Linked DNA regions of Homo sapiens: region 2 is linked to region 1. Evidence: promoter capture Hi-C in 16 types of primary human blood cells and fetal thymus (Javierre and others, 2016). All regions are on one chromosome and are shown on one strand. Each heading gives the region's core, a stretch centred on a gene start or on the middle of the fragment in contact. The rest is flanking DNA. Distances are from core to core; before and after follow the strand shown.

The links. The method cuts DNA at HindIII sites, captures the fragments that hold promoters and counts their contacts. A CHiCAGO score of 5 or more calls a contact.
Region 2: a contact is called between the fragment with the promoter of FBL here and the fragment with the promoter of VRK3 in region 1, in 1 of 17 cell types (fetal thymus). The highest score is 5.0, in fetal thymus.

The regions. Positions count from the first base shown.
Region 1 is chr19:50,023,565-50,027,960 of GRCh38, reverse strand. It overlaps VRK3 (VRK serine/threonine kinase 3), which reads left to right and starts at 2,589. Exons shown (of 15, transcript NM_016440.4): 1 at 2,589-2,694. ZNF473 (zinc finger protein 473) reads right to left here and starts at 1,956. Exons shown (of 5, transcript NM_015428.4): 1 at 1,839-1,956. RefSeq lists enhancers at 1,803-1,852, 2,263-2,312, 2,653-2,732, 2,782-3,283. The HindIII fragment of the contact is 2,425 bases long and covers 1,952-4,376 here.
Region 2 is chr19:39,844,649-39,849,044 of GRCh38, reverse strand. FBL (fibrillarin) reads left to right here and starts at 2,666. Exons shown (of 9, transcript NM_001436.4): 1 at 2,666-2,754. The coding sequence starts at 2,745. RefSeq lists an enhancer at 3,121-3,861. The HindIII fragment of the contact is 4,240 bases long and covers 92-4,331 here.

The DNA of each region.
Region 1 (4,396 bases), core at 1,340-3,839:
TCCCAGCACTTTGGGAGGCCAAGGCAGGCGGATCACCTGAAGTTTGGAGTCCAAGACCAGCCTGATCAACATGGTGAAACCCCCGTATCTACCAAAAATACAGAAATTAGCCAGGCATGGTGGTGCACGCCTGTAATTCCAGCTGCTTGGGAGGCTGAGGCAGGAGAATCGCTTCAACCGGGGAGGTGGAGGTTCCAGTGAGACCGAACTCCAGCCTGGGTGACAGAGCGAGACTCTGTCATCAAAAAAAAAACACAATTCTCCCCTTCAGATGAGGCAAGTGCTCCCCAAGGCCCCGCAGCCTCACCTGGACCAGTTCTCTTCTTTCCTGTATGTCATCTGCCTGGCCCTCACAGACAGCTGAGCTTGAGATCCCTGTCTGCAGTTACCAAATCACATTCTGCCCACATCTCATATACTCTCAGCTCTGGGAGGAAAGAAACGAGGGCCCAGAGGTGGAGCCCAAGGTCATCCAGCCCAGAGTGACTTAAGCCAAACAATTATCAGGCTGAGAGACCTTGGGCCCAAGAGTCTTGCCCTTCCTTCCAGACCATTTACCTTCTCTAAGCCTTAGTTTCCACATGTACCAAATGGAACAAATACAACAGATCTATGGTCCTTTAAATGCTCCAAAAACCAGAACTTGATTTATAAACTGACCGCAAAACTTCACCTGGATTGCCACAGGCCATGTAGGGTCTTAATGTTCTCATAAGTGTGAATATTCACACCTTGCCCCACAGAAACATTTTATGACCAAAAACTGGCCCAGATTCCTCGGGGTGTGGGGGGGTGCTGCCTAATTATAAAATATGCACCCTATTAGCTTTCTAAAATCTGAAAAATTCTGATTCCCGAGATTGCCTTGGTGCCAAGGGGACCTGCACTTATGTCTCAGTGCTGCTGCGGGGATCAGAAGAGGAAATGCAACTCCAGCAGGGCGCCTGGCACACAGAAAGCACTCAAATACTGTAAATGTTAAGTACTTCAACTTCCCGAAGAACTCCCATCCATCGTCCAGCAAGATTCTGCCTAAATTTGCCAACTTCAGGTAACTCATTCCCCTCCTTCCCCAACCAAAACCAAAATAAAACAGAACCACTCCTCTCAGGGCCATCAGGGAGGCCTGGAAACCCCTTTAGCAGTTTTCTTTTCTTTTCTTTTCTTTCTCAGCTCACTGCAACCTCTGCCTCCTGGGTTCAAGCAATCCTCCCACCTCGGCCTCCCAATTAGCTAGGAATACAGGGGCGCACCACCACGCCCGGCTAATTTTTCTATTTTTTTCTTCTTTTGTGGAGACAGGGCTTCACCATCTGGCCCAGGCTAGCCTCGAAATCCTGGGCTCAAGCGATCCGCCCACCTCAGCCTCCCAAGGTGGTTTTCTTCCTTTCTTTTTTTTTTTTTTTTTTTAAGATGTAGTCTCGCTCTGTCACCCAGGCTGGAGTGCAATGGCGCGATCTCGGCTCACTGCAACCTCCAGCTCCTGGGTTCAAGCGATTCTCCTGCCTCAGCCTCCTGAGTAGCTGGGATTACAGGCCCCCGCCACCACGCTCAACTAATTTTTGTATTTTTAGTAGAGACTGGGGGTTCGAGGAACTCCTGGCTGTAAGTGATCCCCCCCGCCAAGGCTTCCCAAAGTGCTGGGATTACAGGCGTGATCTACCGTGCCCAGACCTTGAGCGGTTTTCATAACAGACTGTGAAAGACGGTTCACACCTTCACCCTGACAACCGCCGCCCAAGGCGACGCACCCTTTGCCGAAGTCGCCCCCACTTGCATTCCGTCACCTCTCAGGAAGGACCGAGCCCGCAAGTCCCTCAGCCCCAGCGTCTCCGTACCTCGGGATTGTAGTCGGCCGCGTCAACAGACGCAACCCCAGCCTCAAGGGAGCGGGAGATTCAACTCCCCGCACACGCGCCTCCTCGCAGCGACTTCCTGTGCGCGAGAAGCTTCTCTGAGCGGCTGCACCCAGGATCCTCCGCGGCAGCGCCAGGACTCTATTTCCCAGAGGGCTGTGCGGGCGACTTCTTTCGCCTTCCCATCTCCTCCTGCTTCTTCAGCCTTAGCACTGTGGGAGTAGAGTAGAAAGAGAATCAGGACCAGGCGGCATCAGTTTGTAGTCCAGATTTTTACCTTGTTAAAGAATCATCTAATTAGCTTCTTGCCTTTACTAGAAGTCAGGGAGTGTTAACCTTTTCCGAAGAGCAAGCGGTAGGTTGCCATGGAAACGCGTTGTGACGGGTTTCTGAGAAAACAAGCGGAAGTAAGGGGCGGAGTTGAGGCAGAAGTTTAGGTAATGTGACCTCTGATTGGTGGAGAGGTACCTCACGGTGCATTCCGATTGGTCTGACACTGACACATGCGCAGTAGAACCAGAAGGCGTTCCAAAGCGGCTAGAACGGAGGGGAGGGGGATGAGCAATGAGGGAATAATCCCCATTCCGTCTGGAATCAGAGGGCGGGCCTGCCGCGGAGGCATCTGGGAAACGGAGTTCCCAGGCAGGCGAAGCCCAGGGGCCGTCAGGAAGTCAGCGGCGCCTGCGCGGGCGCCTCAGATTCAGGATGCGCGCGCAGCGCTCTCCGCCCAGCGGAAGTTTTCGCTGGGCAACTGAGAAGGTGAGTCCGGGTAACTGCGGAGGATCCGAGGGTCAGGCTGCAGAAGCCCAGAATCCCACCCCAGTCCCCAAGTACAGAGGTGAGGGGAAGCGAGGCGAACGAGGGGACGTCCCCCGACCCCCTAGCCGCAGCTCGGCCGGGGCGTCCGTGACGTCAGCACGACCGTTTGTGGGAGGCGGAGGCCCCTGCTGTCGGGGTTCGGAATGAGAGCGGCTCCGGGTCGCGGGGTTCACTGGCCTCCTCTTGAGCTTCCCAAGCCACCTTGGGCTCCGTGTTGGGCATGGCTAAGGCGGAGATGGGCGGAACTTGTGGGAAGTTCGACAGCTCCTCCGCTGTGAAACTTGGCGTCTAAGTCATCCCGTGGTTTCTATGGAGGTGCGGCCGAAGGGAGGCTCTGTCGTCGCCTAGGCAATCGCCCCACCTGCGCTGAGGTGGGGTCTGACTTTTAGCCTTTTTGCTGTGCTGTTTCCTGAACTTTCTAGGAGGAACACTATACAGTAGTTGACGCATAGCAGCTGTTCCCTAAACATTTGTTGAATAAGTCAAATAAATTAAGATAAAGACTGGCCTGAGGGTTGGAGTCTTAGGGTTTCAAGTCCTGACCTGGCCATTGCATAGGTGACTTCAGCACATCCAATTTTATTGAGCGTTTACTATATGGAAGGCTCCGTGCAACCGATATTACACTACTATAACCTGGGTTTGAACGGTGCTAGTCTAATAGGCACTGTTCAAGCCCAGGTTATTATAGCAGTGTCTAAAACAAAAATCCTGCCCAGCTAATTCACATTCTCAGGGTGGTTGGGGATGCCAGACACTAAAAAAGAAATGTTAAAGAATATTTACAGGTCTGCAGTCCCTTATCTATAACTTTAAAATCCAAAACGTTCTGAAAACTGAAAGGTCTTTTTCTCTGTTTTGCAACTTACTTGGCAGGCCAACCTCACCTGGCTTTGAACTTGTTTGCTGGCAATACCCACTCTGAACTGATGTGTGACTATTTAGAATTTTTAAAGATTTTGTTGTGCAAATCATATACTTATGGAGAGTTGCCCCTGGATCTCGCCGGTGTTGTAATATGTAATAGGTTCTAAAATCCAAAAAATTTGGCTGGGCACGGTGGCTCCCGCCTGTAGTCCCAGCACTTTAGGAGACCGAGGTGGGCGGATCACCTGGGTTCAGGAGTTCGAGACCAGCCTGGCCAACATGGTGAAACCCCATCTCTACTAAAAATAAAAAAATTAGCCGGGCATGGTGGCATGCGCCTGTAATCCCAGCTACTCGGGAGGTTGAGGCAGGGAGAATCGCTTGAACCCAGGAAGCGGAGGTTGCAAGTGAGCTGAGGTCGTGCCACTGCTCTCCAACCTGGGTGACATAGCAAAACTCTGTCCATCATGCAATACATGGCAGAAGCAAGATCCAAACCCAGGCAGATTATTTCCCAAGTTTATCCTCTTAACCCCTGTACTGATCTGCTTCTAAGTGGCACGTCTTTTTTAGGGACCATCCAGCTAGATAATTCCGGCCCTGAGCTTTGAGTCTCTGGCTGGATGTCTAGATTTGCCTGAGAGATGAATGTGTACTGACACAGCTGGGGACCCCCCCCACCCACCTTCTTGGCACATTTTCTTTTGCAAAGGAGACAATGATTTATTCACTCAGCAGACGTAGACCCAGCATTTGCTCTGTGCCAGGCCTGTTTGAGGCTCTGGGCACACTGTGGCAAACAAGGCAGGGAAAAGTCCCCGCCATCATGAAGCTTACATTCTAGTAAGTCAGAG
Region 2 (4,396 bases), core at 1,417-3,916, about 10 Mb after region 1:
GCTAAATGACGAGGTGAGCAGAGGTGACTTGGGAGTCAATGGGTCTAGCAGCACAAAGGGGAGCAGGTGCTACAGTGTGACTGTGTAAGCTTCAGACCTAGGGTTCAGGGAGGAGGCAGAGACAATGGTTTAGAAGTGCCAGTGAGGAGCAAGGACGCTCTTCTCCCATCTACAGATCCAGTGGACATGAAGGCCGAGAAGGAGAAAACAGCCCCGCTTGGAAAGGGAGGTCTTCAGGGCAGAGTCCTCCTTAGAGCAAGAAGGTCACAGGAAGGTTCAGAGGGAGTTGAGGAAATGGGGAATATTGGGAAAAGTCCTCAAGGGCTTCGCTATCCCTGCCCTGCCCTGCCTGCCAGTGTCTCCTCCATCCCCCTCCCACCTCTCTGCCTGGGCCTCCCCTATCCTGGCCCTGAGCCCCCTGCCTGGGGCTCCCCAGTCCCATTTCTGCCGGTGCTTCCCCCATTGCCCTCCTACCCCTCTGCCTGTCCCAGCCCTGACCCCTCTGGGCCAACACTGTTTGGGAACCTGTCTGTCTCTCCTATTGGACTGGCAGCTCCAGGAGGACAGGACCCGGGGCTGTTTTAGCCACCATTGTGTCCCCAGCACAAGACCAACAGGCACCTCCACCACTAATTACTTACCGATAGAGCCAATTTCAGGTCTTCAGAGCAAGCTAGCAGGCAAAGTATCTCAGAAGCAGGAGATGGTGCCAGGATTCCAAGAAATAGGGCTGGAATCCCCTAAATCTGCACTGCACTCTGAGTACTTTTGTCCTTTAGAAGAAAAATATTAATTAGAAGGCAAATAGTAAAATCCATGTGAAATAGGTAACATTATCCGGAATTGGACCCACTGGAATCATTGCACATCTAGAAATCCAGAATAGACTCAACTATTTCATCTCATAGTTTTTAAAAAGTTTTTTTTGTTTGGTTTTTGTTTTTGTTTTGGGACAGGGGTGTCGCTCTGTGACCCAGGCTGGAGTGTAGTGGTGCAGTCATGGCTCATTTCAGCCTAGACCTACTGGGCTCAAAGGATCCTCCTGCCTCAGCCTCTTGAGTAGCTGGGACTACAGGTGCAAGCAACCATACCCAGCTAATTTTTTATTTTTTGTAAAGATAAGGTCTCACTCTGTAGCCCAGGCTGGCCTTAAGCTCCTGGGCTCAAGCGATCCTCCTGCCTCGGCCTCCCAAAGTGCCTGGATTACAGGTGTGAGCCACTGCCCCGACCGGTTCTGAAAAGTTTAAGCAGATTTTCCATCATAATATCTAAACAATCTTTCAGGAATGTTTCTGTGCAAATTGGTGGCATTCCACAGCTGGAACACTGTACACAGAGAACTCACAACGGTATGAGGCCATCCATTCATTCAACAAACATTTACTGGGCACCCAGAGGGCTGTCCTAGGCCTAGAGTGATAGAGCAGTGAATGGAACAGAGTCAACATCTAGGCTCTGGACTGGTAGGTTCTTCTGGAGTTTTTCGGTAACTTCTCATAACAGCAGTTGTCTTGCTTTGCAGAATGAATATAGGGATGGATACTGATATTACACAATTACAAAGCCCAAAATTCTTAATACTTAAGCAGAATCTGTTGACCCCTGACGCCGCTCTCTGCCCCCACTCTGATCTGTCCATCCTTTTCTTCTGATTCACGGCAGCAGCCAGTCCTTGGTTTTCCTGCTTTCACCCTCACTCCTGCAGTCTGCTTCCCACATGCAGCCAGAGGGACCTGTGTCAGATCACATTCCTTCTCTGCTTGGAACCCTTCCATGGTTCCATCTTACTGCCTAAGTCCTCACTATGTCCCACAAAGCTCCGCACAATCTGCCCTTGTTAGCTACCCGCCCTTATCTCCTCTTACTCTCCACCTTGCTCACTTTGCCCCACCCACCCTCCTCATTGTCTCTCCAACTTCCCATATCTTTCCTTCCTCAGGGCCTCTGCATCTGCAGATCTTTTCCCTGCCTGGAACTCTCTTCCCCTAGATAGGTGCATGCCTCACTCCTCACTTCCTTCAGCCCTTTAGCTCAAAAGTCTCCTGATGCATTCCTTGACCACCGTGCCAAAAAAACAAAAATCATTTGCCCTCCAAAATCTCTATCCCCTTTCCCTGCTGTTATTTTCTCCAAAGCACTTATCGCTTTCAAACATTCAACATGTTTGGTGTCTATTTCCTCCATTAAAAAGATGAACTCCAGGAGAGTGGAGATTTTTATGTCTCGTACACCGCTGTATTCCCAGCTCCTAGAACAGCACCTGGTACACACGAGGTGCACTGTAAATGTTTTTCGGATGTTTGAATGGAAGCCCAGAGTCGGTCACTGTTCTTGGGGCTGGAAATGTATTGGGGAAGCCTTTTTGGGTGTACAGGGGCCAGAGGGATTTAGCTAGGAATACAAAAGAGGGCACAGCCCGTGCGAAGGCTATGAGCCCTGATTATTGGGGTGCTCGCATTGGGGAAGAGGAAACCGGAAGCGAGTTTAGGGCGACCGCTGCACAGGCAAAGGCTGGGAAGGCAGAGAGCGAGGGCAGCGGGTTGCGTGTCGACAGGCTCGAGAATCCAGGCTCACTGCGCGTGCGCCGAGCTCCGGGCGGGGAAGGGGCCCGGGGGCGGGACTACGGGGTGGCGTCACGCAGCGCACGTCGCCGCGCGCCTGCGCTCTTTTCCACGTGCGAAAGCCCCGGACTCGTGGAGTTGTGAACGCCGCGGACTCCGGAGCCGCACAAACCAGGGCTCGCCATGAAGCCAGGTCAGGCTGGGGTGAGGGTCCGGGGTCAGGGACGGAGGCCGGGCGGGAATCCGGGTGCCAGGCCAGAATCGGAGGGGTGGGGCCTTGGCCTGGGGGCAGGGGTTCTGAGCACGGGTTCCAGTCTCCTGTGGGAAGGGGGATTCTGATTCCAGCAGGTCTAGGGGTTTGTGACTGGCTTCAGAGGTCACGGTCGTGAGTCGAAGAAGGCCGTGGGCCTGGCATTGGGGGTGTTGACGTGGGGTTCGTCTCATTGAGGCCGTCTAATAGGGATTTTGGATATTGGGCAGGAGGCGGCACTCAAGGGTCTTGGGCTAGAGTTTGGATTCAGGCATCTGGAGTCTTGGATCGCTGGGCGTGTTTTGGGAATCAGGCTTGGGTCGGAGATGGAGAGTTCCTGACCTTGGGTCCTGGAGCTGTGTGTGGGAAGCCCCCATTTGCCTTCCCTGTCGCTGCCACCACCACCATCCCCTTATCCCGCATCCCAGCTTTTCCGAGTGGGCCGGAGTGGATGAGGACTCCCCGGTTGGCCGTGTGCGGCGCTCTTCGGCTCACTTTCCCGCCTTCTGCACTTACAGTGGGGCGGATCCCCGGGGATGGAGTGGAGATTTGGGGATTAAGATTTCCACCTCCGGGACGAGACTTAACAAGCTCGGCATTAGTCTGGGGTGGTGGGGCGGGTGGTTGTCACAGGAGGTAAGTAGTTTTATTCTTAAGATTTTCCACTAGATTCTGCTGAAACCACTCCCTTCATGGTGGAATGATGAGGGGGTCCTGGCTTTGACAGCAGAAGGGCCTCAGTTCAGTGTGTCAGCTCTTGCTCAGCTTCTTAGCCTGCTGTGTGAACTTGGGCAAGTGGCTTTACCTCTCTGAGCCTCTGTTTTCTCATCAATAAAATGGCGCCAGTTAGGATTAAGCGACGTTAAAAAAAATAGCACAGTGCTTGACATATAATAGTATTAGCTCTAATTGTTACCTTTATCTTTCTCAAAGAGAACAACATTAGAATCCTTCTCGGTGGTGCCTGAGCACTTCCTCCATCTGGCCTGCCCAACCCGCACTCATCTGTGTGAGAACTTGCTTCATTGAGTTTGGAGAATTTCCACCATGGCCCAAAGGGTCTGTTTTCCTAGTACAGGCTTTCTTTTTCTTTTGTGTGTGTGTTTGTGTGGAGAGATGGGGGTCACCTGGCAGGAGATTTGTGGATCTGTGCCCTTCTCCCAAGTTCCCTTTCTCTTCCGTGTTTGGGGATCTCTTGATGAAGTGGGGTGGGGGATTGTAGGCCAGGTATGCTGAGATCCTGGCTTGCCTGCAGGCATTCTGGTCTGTGATTCCCTCATAAATGGAGGATACCCGTTCTTCCAACCTTCCTCCATGTGTGGTAGAATGTGAAGTTGTAAAAGTTGTCAGGTGTTAGCTCTTTAGTAAGGATTTTAGCCTGAGTGAGAAAAGAACCCTTTGGGAGATTTTTGAGCAGGGGCGTGGTGCAGTCTGACATTTTTAAAAGGGATTCTTTTTGCTTCGATGTGTGAAAGACCTCAGGGTGGCAAAAGTGGAAGCAGGCACATTGGTGGGAAGCTTGTTGCTGTAATCTAGGAGATGGTGTGGTGGACCAGGATGGGAGCAGTGGACATGCTGACAGTTT